3 separate regions of the Homo sapiens genome follow, and all the other regions are linked to region 3. Evidence: promoter capture Hi-C in human tissues and cell types (Jung and others, 2019). All regions are on one chromosome and are shown on one strand. Each heading gives the region's core, a stretch centred on a gene start or on the middle of the fragment in contact. The rest is flanking DNA. Distances are from core to core; before and after follow the strand shown.

Region 1 (3,423 bases), core at 590-3,089, 220 kb after region 3:
CTGGGTGACAGAGTGAGAACTTATCTCAAAAAAAAAAAAAAAAAAAAAAAAAAGAAGAGATGAGGCCTCTTCCTGTCTCCCTCCCCGACTCGACAGTGACACAAACCAGCCTCCCCAGGAACCTTCACATCAAAGTGGACTGACCAGGAGGGGCGTGGAGAGGAAGGAGACAGGGGCCCCCTAGCTCCTTTAGCTTCCTCCTGAGGAGGCTGGGCGAGGGGCGATTTCTGATGGGCTCAGAGAGCAGCTCACAGGAAGGAGGCTTGGGACATCATTCCAGCCCCACCTCCCCGCACAGGGTTCTCCCTGGACTGCCTTCCTGAGCACATGCGTGAGATGCTAATAGCAGGTCTGACAAGCTGCTCCCTGGACAGGCAGCAGCGAAGGGAGGCCAAGTGCTTGGGCCAGCCTCCTCTCCCTCCCTGATTCATTGATCCACTCAGCAAACATCTGAGCACCTACTCTGTGCCAGGCACTGGGCACTGGGGACACAGTGTTCCACAGGAAGAGTCCATGGCCTTGAGGAGTTCACGGTGTAGTGCAAGTGACCAGCAAGTGCAACTGTGAGAAGGGCAGAGGGAGTGGAAACAGCTATAGGGTGCTAGAAGAGATACGGGGGCCAGGCACAGTGGCTCATGCCAACACTTTGGGAGGTCAAGGTGGGAAGATCACTTGAGGCTGTGAGTTCGAGACCAGCCTGGGCAACATAATGAGACCCAGTCTGTACAAGGAAATATAAAAAAACTAACCAGGCATGGTGGCATGTGCTTGTAGCCCCAGCTACTTGGTAGGCTGAGGCAGGAAAATCACTTGAGCCCAGGAAGTCAAGGCTGCAGTGAATCAAGATCATGCTACTGCACTCCACCCTGGGCAACAGAGAGAGACCCTATCTCTAAACACAAAAAACAAAAGACAGAGATACAGGGAGACCTGATTTGTCTGGGAAGGCTTCCTAAGGAAGGGACCCTTAAGGTGAAAGTGAAAGGATTAGTTAACTTGGTGAAGAAGAGAGGGAGAGTGTTCTGGGTAGAGGGAACTGCACGTGTAAAGGCCCCTTGGCAGAAGAGACCCTGGCCTGGAGATGGGCTTGGGAGGAGGCCAGGGTGGCTGAGTGCAGTGAGGAGGGGAAGTGCGTGCTTGGAGAGGCCAGACACAGGGTCTTGAAGGCCAGTCCCAGGGTTCCAGCTCTATCTTAAGAGTAACAGGGAGCCAGTCAAGGGTTTTACACGAAGCAGGAGATAAGATCCAATTGACTTTTTTTTTTTTTTTTTAAATGGAGTATCACTCTGTCGCCCAGGCTGGAGTGCCGTGGCGCGACCTTGGGTCACTGCAACCTCTGCCTCCTGGGTTCAAGCAATTCTGCCTCAGCCTCCTGAGTAGCTGGGATTATAGGCGCATGCCACCATGCCTGGCTAATTTGTGTATTTTTTTAGTAGAGATGGGGTTTCACCATGTCGGCCAGGGTGGTCTTGAGCTCCTGACCTCAAGTGATCCACCTGCCTCAGCCTCCCAAAGTGCTGGGATTATAGGCATGAGCCACCGCGCCCGGCCCCAGTTTATATTTTGAGAAAGAATCCCTCTGGCTGTCCTTAGAGAGCATATGGAGGGGGCCTAGTGGAACTGGGGGAGCAAGACAGGAAGCAAGAGCAAGTCTCGAAGGAGAGAGGTGGTGAGTAGTGAGAGGGTTGGTGGCTCTGAAGAGGTCTGAGAGATCTTCAGAATGGCAAGTGTCCCTGACTCCTTGGTGATTGGCTACTGGAAGCCAGGACACTCAAGGATAAGAAGGAAGAAAAACAATGACCCTGAGACGAACACTATGGTCTCAGTGCCTCCACAGATATAGACAGAAAACCAAGCCCACGTTGGATGCTTTTTTCCAAAACTGATTTTTCACTCACTCCCTCTTCTTTCGCAGGAAAAGGTGAATTTTACCAACAGTCTCCGACATACCCCTGGAGAAACACACTGTCATTTATTTAACCAGTACCTGACTGCGGCCATTTAGCTGTCTCTATTTTTGCTTTTGTAAACAATGCCACAATGAGCACTCGTGTGGCTAAATATTTGCGCCTGCACTTACAGATGATGTGTGCTTACAGACTTCCTTAGGAGAGATTTCTCAAAGTGAACTGTTTCAGCTGCATTTTGCCAGCCTGCCCTGTTCCCATCTGAGGGTGGGCATCGATGGAGGAAATCTTCTGATGCCCATAAGGTCAAAGCTGTCTTACCTTTAATATTCAGTACCTGAAAAAAAAAAAAACCCTTCCAAGACCAATATGTTGACCAAAGGCTACTAGGAATTCCCCAGATGATTCAAATTAATTTGTTCCTCCTCTGCTATGAGGACTCCAAACTTCCACTTGACAAGAGTCACAATTGTTTGGGTGAAACATTATTTGCTCAGTCCACAGATGAGACTTGCTGAACATATGGGTTTGGGGACCCCCCTGCCATACCCTTAAGTCCCCTCCCCAGGGTCTGAGACTTAGCGATGCGTGGAGAAGTCATTCCCCACAAACTTGCGCATCCCCTGAAGGGCATCTGCACTGAGCAGCTGGGAGGACCTGGGTAAGGTGAAGACGGAAGGTGTGGGGATTAGGTCAACCCTCTGCAGGGACAGTCCATGGCCTAAAGGTATAGGCATTACCCTGGGGATGCACCTTGCGGCCATTTCCTGAAGCAGCATTGTCCTGTGGCAGCAAGACTGGCCACATCATTTTTGGGGCCCAGTACAAAAAGAATATGTGCCCTGCCGACAAATTATTAATAAATTGCCGAGGGGTGACAATAGAGCATTAAACCAAGCCCTGGGCCCTCGGAAGTGTAGGGCCCAAAGTGACAGCACAGGCTGCCCGCACAACCGTGAAGCTGGCCTTCTTGGCAAGTCTCTTCCTCCCAGAAAAGAGGTCTTGCAGGCGTGGAGCAGCAGAGAGGAGGTAAGCGTGGGAGGCCAGCTCGGGGAGCAGCCCAGCCCAGCCATGGCTCACTGCCGGGTAGCCGGAGAGCCTCTGGGGCCTCCTTGAGGCTGCCTGTCAGGCTGATGGAGTGGATAGATGCGGTAGAAGCAGATGGGGCCGGTGACCTGGCAGACAGGTGCGCGCATAACACCTCTGCAGCCACAAAGCCGTGCAAGCCCAGCATGTGGGAGGGACTGGCGTGGCAAGGATTTGCTGCCTGCGGAGCGGGAGAAGAAAGCTGAGATTAACAACAGTGAGAGCAACAGAAGCTCTTCCTGCACACTCATGGGTGCCAGGTGCTGTGCTTGGCCTGAAGAGCCATCCCTTGAGACTGGAGCCACTGTTACCCCCACTGAGGCCCAGAGGGGAGAAGTGGCAGCATCTAGAAATCCTGAGTCCTCTTCTCTGTTCTTCCTTGTCCACCTCCAGCCCTGTCCTGCAAGGGACCAATGCCTGGAGTGGATGG
Region 2 (3,037 bases), core at 1-2,500, 170 kb after region 3:
AAGATTGACTGGTTTTTTTCCCCCAATAGGGTGGAACTGGCTTTATTTTGTAGTTATAAAGAACATACCATGGAGTTGGTTCTTGGGAGTTGTGTTCTAAAGGCAATCTATTAGGCAAGAATTGTCTGTGATCAAAACTCCCATGTTTCATTGACTCTAAGATGCCATTGGTTGTAAGAAGCATCATTTTTAAATGCATCAGTAAAAAAGAAAACATACTGCCCTTCGAACTATGACAAAGCACTTCTGTGATTCACACTGATTTTTTAAAATGAAAAATATATCTGCATCTTAGAATTAATGACATATGGTGTTTGAAAACCCCCAAGAAGGCACCACTTTGGAGACCAACACATCTTATTTTCCCAGAAACTCTAATAGCATTTTCTGCATTAGTACAGACTGCTGCTTTAGATTAGGCAGCAGGCTCATGTTCAGGCCATGTTGTAGAGAATCCTCCAGCATAGCAAGATACCATCCTCCAAGAGACTGAGGGGATGACAGAGTTGCATCTTCCATCCCAGGCTTGCTGCAGGGCATCTACCCATGGACAATGGGCAAGGTTGCTGCTTTACTGAAATTTAACTGTTATTTCCTTGTCTTCTCTCACTCCCAAGTGCACATTTGGTAACAGAAGTCTCATTAGTGAAATGTGGGTGCTCTGACTCCACTGTAGGCTCATTGTGAAAACTGAACAATACAAACAAATATAAAAAAGAATGTAGAAAACACCTATAATCACACCAAAGATCATACTATCAACATTTATGCCTAGATCTTTCCAATTAAAACCCTTTATATGATTCATTCTTTAAATGTTTATTGAGCAAATAATGTGCCCTAGGCACTGTGCTAGTCCAAGAGACATGACAGGGGTCAAAGTGGTCAAGATGGATCTGCTTCCTGCCCTTGTTGAGCTTCCAGTCTAGCAACATTAATAAAATATATACAAATGTTTACTTAGAAGATGTGGTAAGTGCTATCAAGGAAAGGTGCTGTTGGGCTGTATAATGGAGGGACCCGATCATTAGATCAGGTCACAGCTGCGAGATTGACTGGTTTTTTTCCCTCAATAGGGTGGAAATGGCTTTATTTTGTAGATATAAAAGTAATGAACCATGGAATTGGTTCTTGAGAGTTGTGTTCTAAAGGCAACCTATTGGCAAGAATTGTCTGTGATCAAAACTACCATATTTCATTGACTCTAAGATGCCATTGGTTGTAAGAAGCACCATTTTTAAGTACATCAGTAAAAAAAGAAAACATGTTGCCTGTTAAACTATGACAAATAGTCTAATTTGTCCTATTAAAGGGTTGGAGGGCTGGGCACAGTCGCGCATGCCTATAATCCCAGCACTTTGGGAGGCCAAGGCAGAGGGATTGCTTGAGCCCAGCAGTTTGGGACCAGTCTGGGCAACCTAGGGAGAGACCCCATCTCTACAAAAAATACAAAAATTAGCCAGGCATGGTGGTGCTTGCCTGTGGTCCCAGCTACCTGGGAGGCTGGGGTGGGAGGATCTCTTGAGCCTGGTAGGTCAAGGCTGCAGTGAGCCATAATGATGCCATTGCACTCCAGCCTGGGCAACAGAGTGAGACCTTGTCTGAAACCATATATGAGGTGGGTAACAGGGTGGTCAGGAAAGGCTTTTGAGCTGAGAATTGAAGAATGAATAGGCTTTACCTGACTTTGTGGGTAGGAGATGGACAAGTCCAAATACAGAAACTGCACAGGCAAGGTGGAAAGAAAAAGAAGGATGGTACGTTAGAAGAACCACAGAGAACCACCATGCAGAGAGTGCAGGAAGAGAGATTTGAGATGAGCAAGGCTGGAAAGGTCAGTCGAGGTCAAATCAGGCAAGGTCCTAAAGGTCATGATGAGGAGTCAAGCTTTTCTTCTAAGAACAATTGAAGATATTGGATTAAATTTGGCATTTCAAAATGCTCATTTTGGCTGCCAGATGAAAAGTGGATTGGAGGCAGAGAGAGACTCATTGGGGGCTGCTGCCAGACATACAGGAGAGATGAGGTGGTCTGGCTTAGAGTAATGGCAGTGGGTAAGTTCAGGAATAGCTTGGACATGGGAGAGAGTGACAGGATGGCACCAGAGTTGCAAGTTTGCATGTGTGGGTACCCAATGGTGGTGTTTTCTAAGGTGAAGGCCATTGGAAGAGGACCAGCTTTGGGGAAGGGTACAGTCTTGATCCTTGTTGAGTATGAGGAGTTTTTGAGTCAACCAGTGGAGGCATCAAGCATACAGGTCAGGAACTGGAGGAAACAGCTGGACTAGAGATACACATTTGGGCATATATATATATATATACAGTATATATATGCACGCTGATTTTATATATATATATATATATAAAATAATTATGGAAGTCAGTGAGATTGTCCAGGGCAAGAATATAATGTCATATGAGAGGGGAGTCCAGACTCTCAAGGAACGCGGACATTTAAGGGGAGAGTAGAATAGGATGGGCCGTCAAAGTCTAAGTCAGAGCATCCTGATGTTGGAGGCAAAGCAGGAGAGTGTGGATTAAGCAGCTAGACATTGGTTACTGGGGCAACAACCGTTTGGGTGGAGAACTGGATCAGAAATCAACTGGAGTGGATCGAGGTGTGCATAGAAGGCGAGGAAGTGGCGAGGCGTTTGGCTGCGAGGGGTAGAACTAGGGTGCACCAAGCAGGAGAAACAGATGGAAGTTTGGACATGATTGAACACAAATGGGAAGAGTACAGAAACAAGAGTGGACCAGGCTCATATGTGTAATCCCAGCACTTGGGGAGGCTGAGGCGGGAGGATTGCTTGACACTAGGAGTTTGAGGCCAACCTGGGCAATATGGCGAGACCCCATCTCTACAAAAACATTTAAAAATTAGCCAGATGCGGTGGCGCATACCTGTGGTCCCAGGCTAAGATGGGACGATTGCTTGAGCCCAGGAGGTCAAGGCCTCAGTCATGCCACTGCTTGAGTGACAGAGCAAGACACTGTCTCAAAAAAAAAGTAAAAAGAAAAAAGAAAGAAACAAGAGTGAG
Region 3 (3,699 bases), core at 254-2,753:
TCCTGAGATTCAAATTCCGATTGCACATTTTTTTCCGGGGGTGGAGTCCAATAATCTAAATTTTAAACAAACCCGCCAGGAGATTCAGAGGTTGGGGAGGGGGCCCACAGAGATCTGAGAAATCCTGAAATGAGATAGCACTGACCCAGGTAGAGGTGGGCCCGCACCTGGAGAGGTCAGGGAAGGGAGACTGGACCTCAGCCCAGGGTCTGGCACCAAAGCAACCACCCTGCCCTCTAGCTTGGGCCTCGCAGCAGCGCTAGCACCCAGCAATAGGAGACAATGGGAAATGTCCACTCGCTGGATTGCTAAGAAATACAGGTCCTGGCCCAACTCCAATTCCACCTGAGTCCTCTGAAAATGTATCAGGCCCTCACCCACCCAGGGCACCCACCCAGCTTCCAGACCCTCACGAAAGGGTGGCAGAGGAAGAAGCTAACATCCGGGCCTGTGGCTGGTGTGGGAGTGGAGGATGTTCCCATGGGTCCGCCTCAGTTGGGGTCTGTACAGGGGTCTGGGAGAGAGTAGGAGTCTTGCCCCTGGCTACCCACAAACCCCTCCCTCCAGCGATATCTCGGTCCCGTGGGGCTGGCTAAACCGGCTGAAACCTGGCGGGTCACCCAGAGAAAGCTAGAAGAGCCCGGCTCCCGCGCGGGCGCCCACAGGGTAGTGCCTGAGTGTGCGTGTTGGGGAGTCGGATGTGCCCTCTAGATTAGATGAGGAATGTTCATGGGTGCGGCCACCCGGAGCCGCTGGGAGCGGGACAGAAGGTGGTCAGAGAGTGGACTTTGCCTCAGACTGGGTTCCCTAGAGGGCTGGGGGCACTGTCCGGGCAGAAAGAGGGGTGAAAAAGAGAGAGGAGGGAAGGGAGGGCTGGGAAGGGTTGGCGGGTTGTGCGCAGTGACTGTGGCTCCGGTGGGGGCTTCTGTGGCCGCTGGTAACCACCTTGGAGGGGGCACGATGGGGCACGGGCAGTGGGCACTCTGTACACGGTGCAGGGTGCTCACGCTCGCAGCGACGGCCACGGGGTAGTGTCGTGGTGAGAGGGATGCAGGGCGATCTTGGGGGCGTCCGTGCGGGAAGCGCCCTAGGGGTACGCGCAGCGCGTCGGTGACAGTGTGAGCCCGGGTGGGGAGCGCAAGGTTCGCGAAAAATGAACGCAGCGCCGGAGTCCCTCACCCATCCTGGCCGGACCGGGAGCCCCCGGCCAACCCCGTGGGCCCGCGCGTGCTCTCACCAGCTGCAGCAGCATGAGCGCCCCGAGGCGGGAGCGCACGAAGCCCAGGTCCGGGCGCAGCGCCGACACCGAGGCTTCGGCGCCCTGCGCAGGACTGCTGGTCCGCGTGCTAACTTTCGACGGGAACTCGGCCATGGCGGCTCCGCTTGCCTCCCGAGGTCGCTACGGCCGCCGTCGCCGCCCCTCCAGCGGTGGGTGCCGGCTCCCGCGCCGCTTTTCCCCCAGGCTCCGGATCCCTGTGTGGCTCCAGGCGCTGCAGGAGGCGTCGGGGCTGGGAGCCTGGGGCGCCAGGTGCGGCCGAGATCCCGGCTCCGCCCCCGCCGCCGGGGCCGCCCCCTTAACCCTTTGCTCGCCGCCGCCGCCCCAGCCGCGACCGGTTCGTGGGCAGCCGCGTCCACTCCCCGGACCAGTAAACAACCCCGGGTCCGTGAATCGGCTCCGCCAGCACCAGCCTAGACCGCTTCGCCGGCCTCCCCCGGGGCAAGCCGCCCGCTGGGAATTTCCCGGCTCTCGCCCAGGCCGTGGTAGCTTCCGCGCCTAGGGATAAACTTGTGGTAGCTCGCGGGGGACACCGCTCTCCCAGGCGCTTTCTACGCGCTGTGCACCCTCGGCCTAGGCCCCGGCGCAGCGACTCTTGAAGAGTCCCGGGAGAAGGCTGGATGCGGTGGCTCCTGCCTCTGATCGCAGCACTTTGGGAGGCTAAGGTGAAAGGATAATTTCAGGCCAAGAGTTCGAGACCAGCCTGGGTAACACAGTGAGACGCCCCCCCTCCCCCCGTCTGTATTTTATAGAAAAGAAAGTAAAGAAGAATCCTGGGAGACCCAGCGCGGGGAAGGGGAGGGTCTGGGTAAGCGGTGGGTAAGCGGTAGAAGGGGGAGGTCCTTTTCTGCCTATTAATGCTGTTTTCACTTCTGAACATATTTTATATAACTTAGATGATCGCGGAGCCTCAGTTTCCTCGTCTGTCATATAGATACGAAGGAAACCTGCCTCACAGAGCGTTGTAGGGAATAAATGAAATATTCCCCAGAAAGCTCCTGACAGCGTGAGGGAGGAGGGGTCACTCAGAAGATGGGAGGTCATATACAGTTTCATTGCCACACATGCACCCTAAAATACTTACACACACACACACACCTCTTGAGCCTAGAGGTTTGCACAGATAGGTCATCATGCATTCATCAACCAATGTTTGCTGAACACCTACTACATGCCAGGCCCTGTGGATACAGCAGGAAACGAAGTAGACAAGGCCTTCTTGGCTCCCACATTTTTTTTTTCCCAAATACCCACTTAAAAAGAGAGCCACTTAAAAAATTGTTTTTAACTGACATGTAATATTAGGTTGGTGCAAAAGTTATACGGTTTTTGCATATAAAAGTATAGCAAAAACCGCAATTACTTTTTCGGCAACCTATAATTGTACCTAAATATGGGGTACCATGTGATGTTTTGGTACCTGTGTACGTTGTGTAAAAAAATCAAATCAAGGTACTTAGCATATCCATCACCTCATACATTTATGGCTTCTTTGGGGTGAGAACATTCAAAATCCCCACTTCTAGCTACCATATTTTGAAATATACAATATTAGGGCCAGGCGCTGTGGCTCACGCCTATAATCCCAGCACTTTGGGAGGCCAAGGCAGGCAGATCACCAGAGGTCATGAGTTTGAGACCAGCCTGGTCAACATGGCAAAACCCTGTCTCTACAAAAATACAAAAAAATTAGCCAGGCATGATGGTGGGTGCCTGTAGTCCCAGCTACACAGGAGGCTGAGACAGGAGAATCACTCGAACCCAGGGAGGCAGAGGTTGCAGTGAGCTGAAATCATGCCACTGCACTCCAGCCTGGGTGACAGAGCCAGACTCCATCTAAAAACAAAAACAAAAAAAGAAAAGAAATGTACAATATTGGTATTTTTTTCTTTTTACTTTTATTTATTTTGAGGCGAGGTCCCACTCTGTCACCCAGGCTGGAGGGCAGTGGCATGATCATAGCCTACTGCAGCCTCCAACCCCTAGGCTCAAGTGATCTTCTCACCTCAGCCTCCCTAGTAGCTAGGACTACAGGTGCACGCCACCATGCCCAACTAATTTTTTTTTTTTTTTGAGATGGAGTCTTGCTGGAATTACAGGCTCGAGCCACCATGCCCAGCTAATTTTTTGTATCTGTAATAGAGACTGGGTTTCACCATGTTGGCCAGGCTGGTCTTGTGATCCGCCCACCTTGGCCTCCCAAAGGGCTGGGATTACAGGCATCAGCCACTGGGCCCAGCCCTGACTAATTTTTTTAAATTTTTTTGTAGAGATGGGGTCTCTCCATGTTGCCCAGACTGGTTTCGCACTCCTGGCCTCAAGCGATCCACCCGCCTTGGCCTTTCAAAGTGCTGGAATTACAGGTGTGAGCCACCATGCCCAGCCCTAACTGTAACTTTGTACCTGTTAACCAACCTCTTTGT

The links. Contacts are between HindIII fragments. The study calls those that stand out against the background at their distance.
Region 1: a contact is called between a fragment that was not itself captured here and the fragment with the promoter of PLLP in region 3, in 1 of the 25 tissues and cell types used here (bladder).
Region 2: a fragment that was not itself captured here is called in contact with the fragment with the promoter of PLLP in region 3 in 5 of the 25 tissues and cell types used here (dorsolateral prefrontal cortex, hippocampus, mesenchymal stem cells and 2 more).

What each region holds. Positions count from the first base shown.
Region 1 is chr16:57,500,538-57,503,960 of GRCh38, forward strand. No RefSeq gene overlaps it. Among named protein-coding and RNA genes, the nearest start is that of DOK4, 16 kb to the left of the region's middle. The HindIII fragment of the contact is 9,526 bases long and covers 1-3,423 here.
Region 2 is chr16:57,453,054-57,456,090 of GRCh38, forward strand. The region is part of intron 3 of COQ9 (coenzyme Q9); the gene reads left to right. Among named protein-coding and RNA genes, the nearest start is that of COQ9, 7.1 kb to the left of the region's middle. The HindIII fragment of the contact is 7,285 bases long and covers 1-3,037 here.
Region 3 is chr16:57,283,169-57,286,867 of GRCh38, forward strand. PLLP (plasmolipin) reads right to left here and starts at 1,504. Exons shown (of 4, transcript NM_015993.3): 1 at 1,238-1,504. The coding sequence starts at 1,372. RefSeq lists an enhancer at 582-1,243 and a silencer at 1,288-1,697. The HindIII fragment of the contact is 17,750 bases long and covers 1-3,699 here.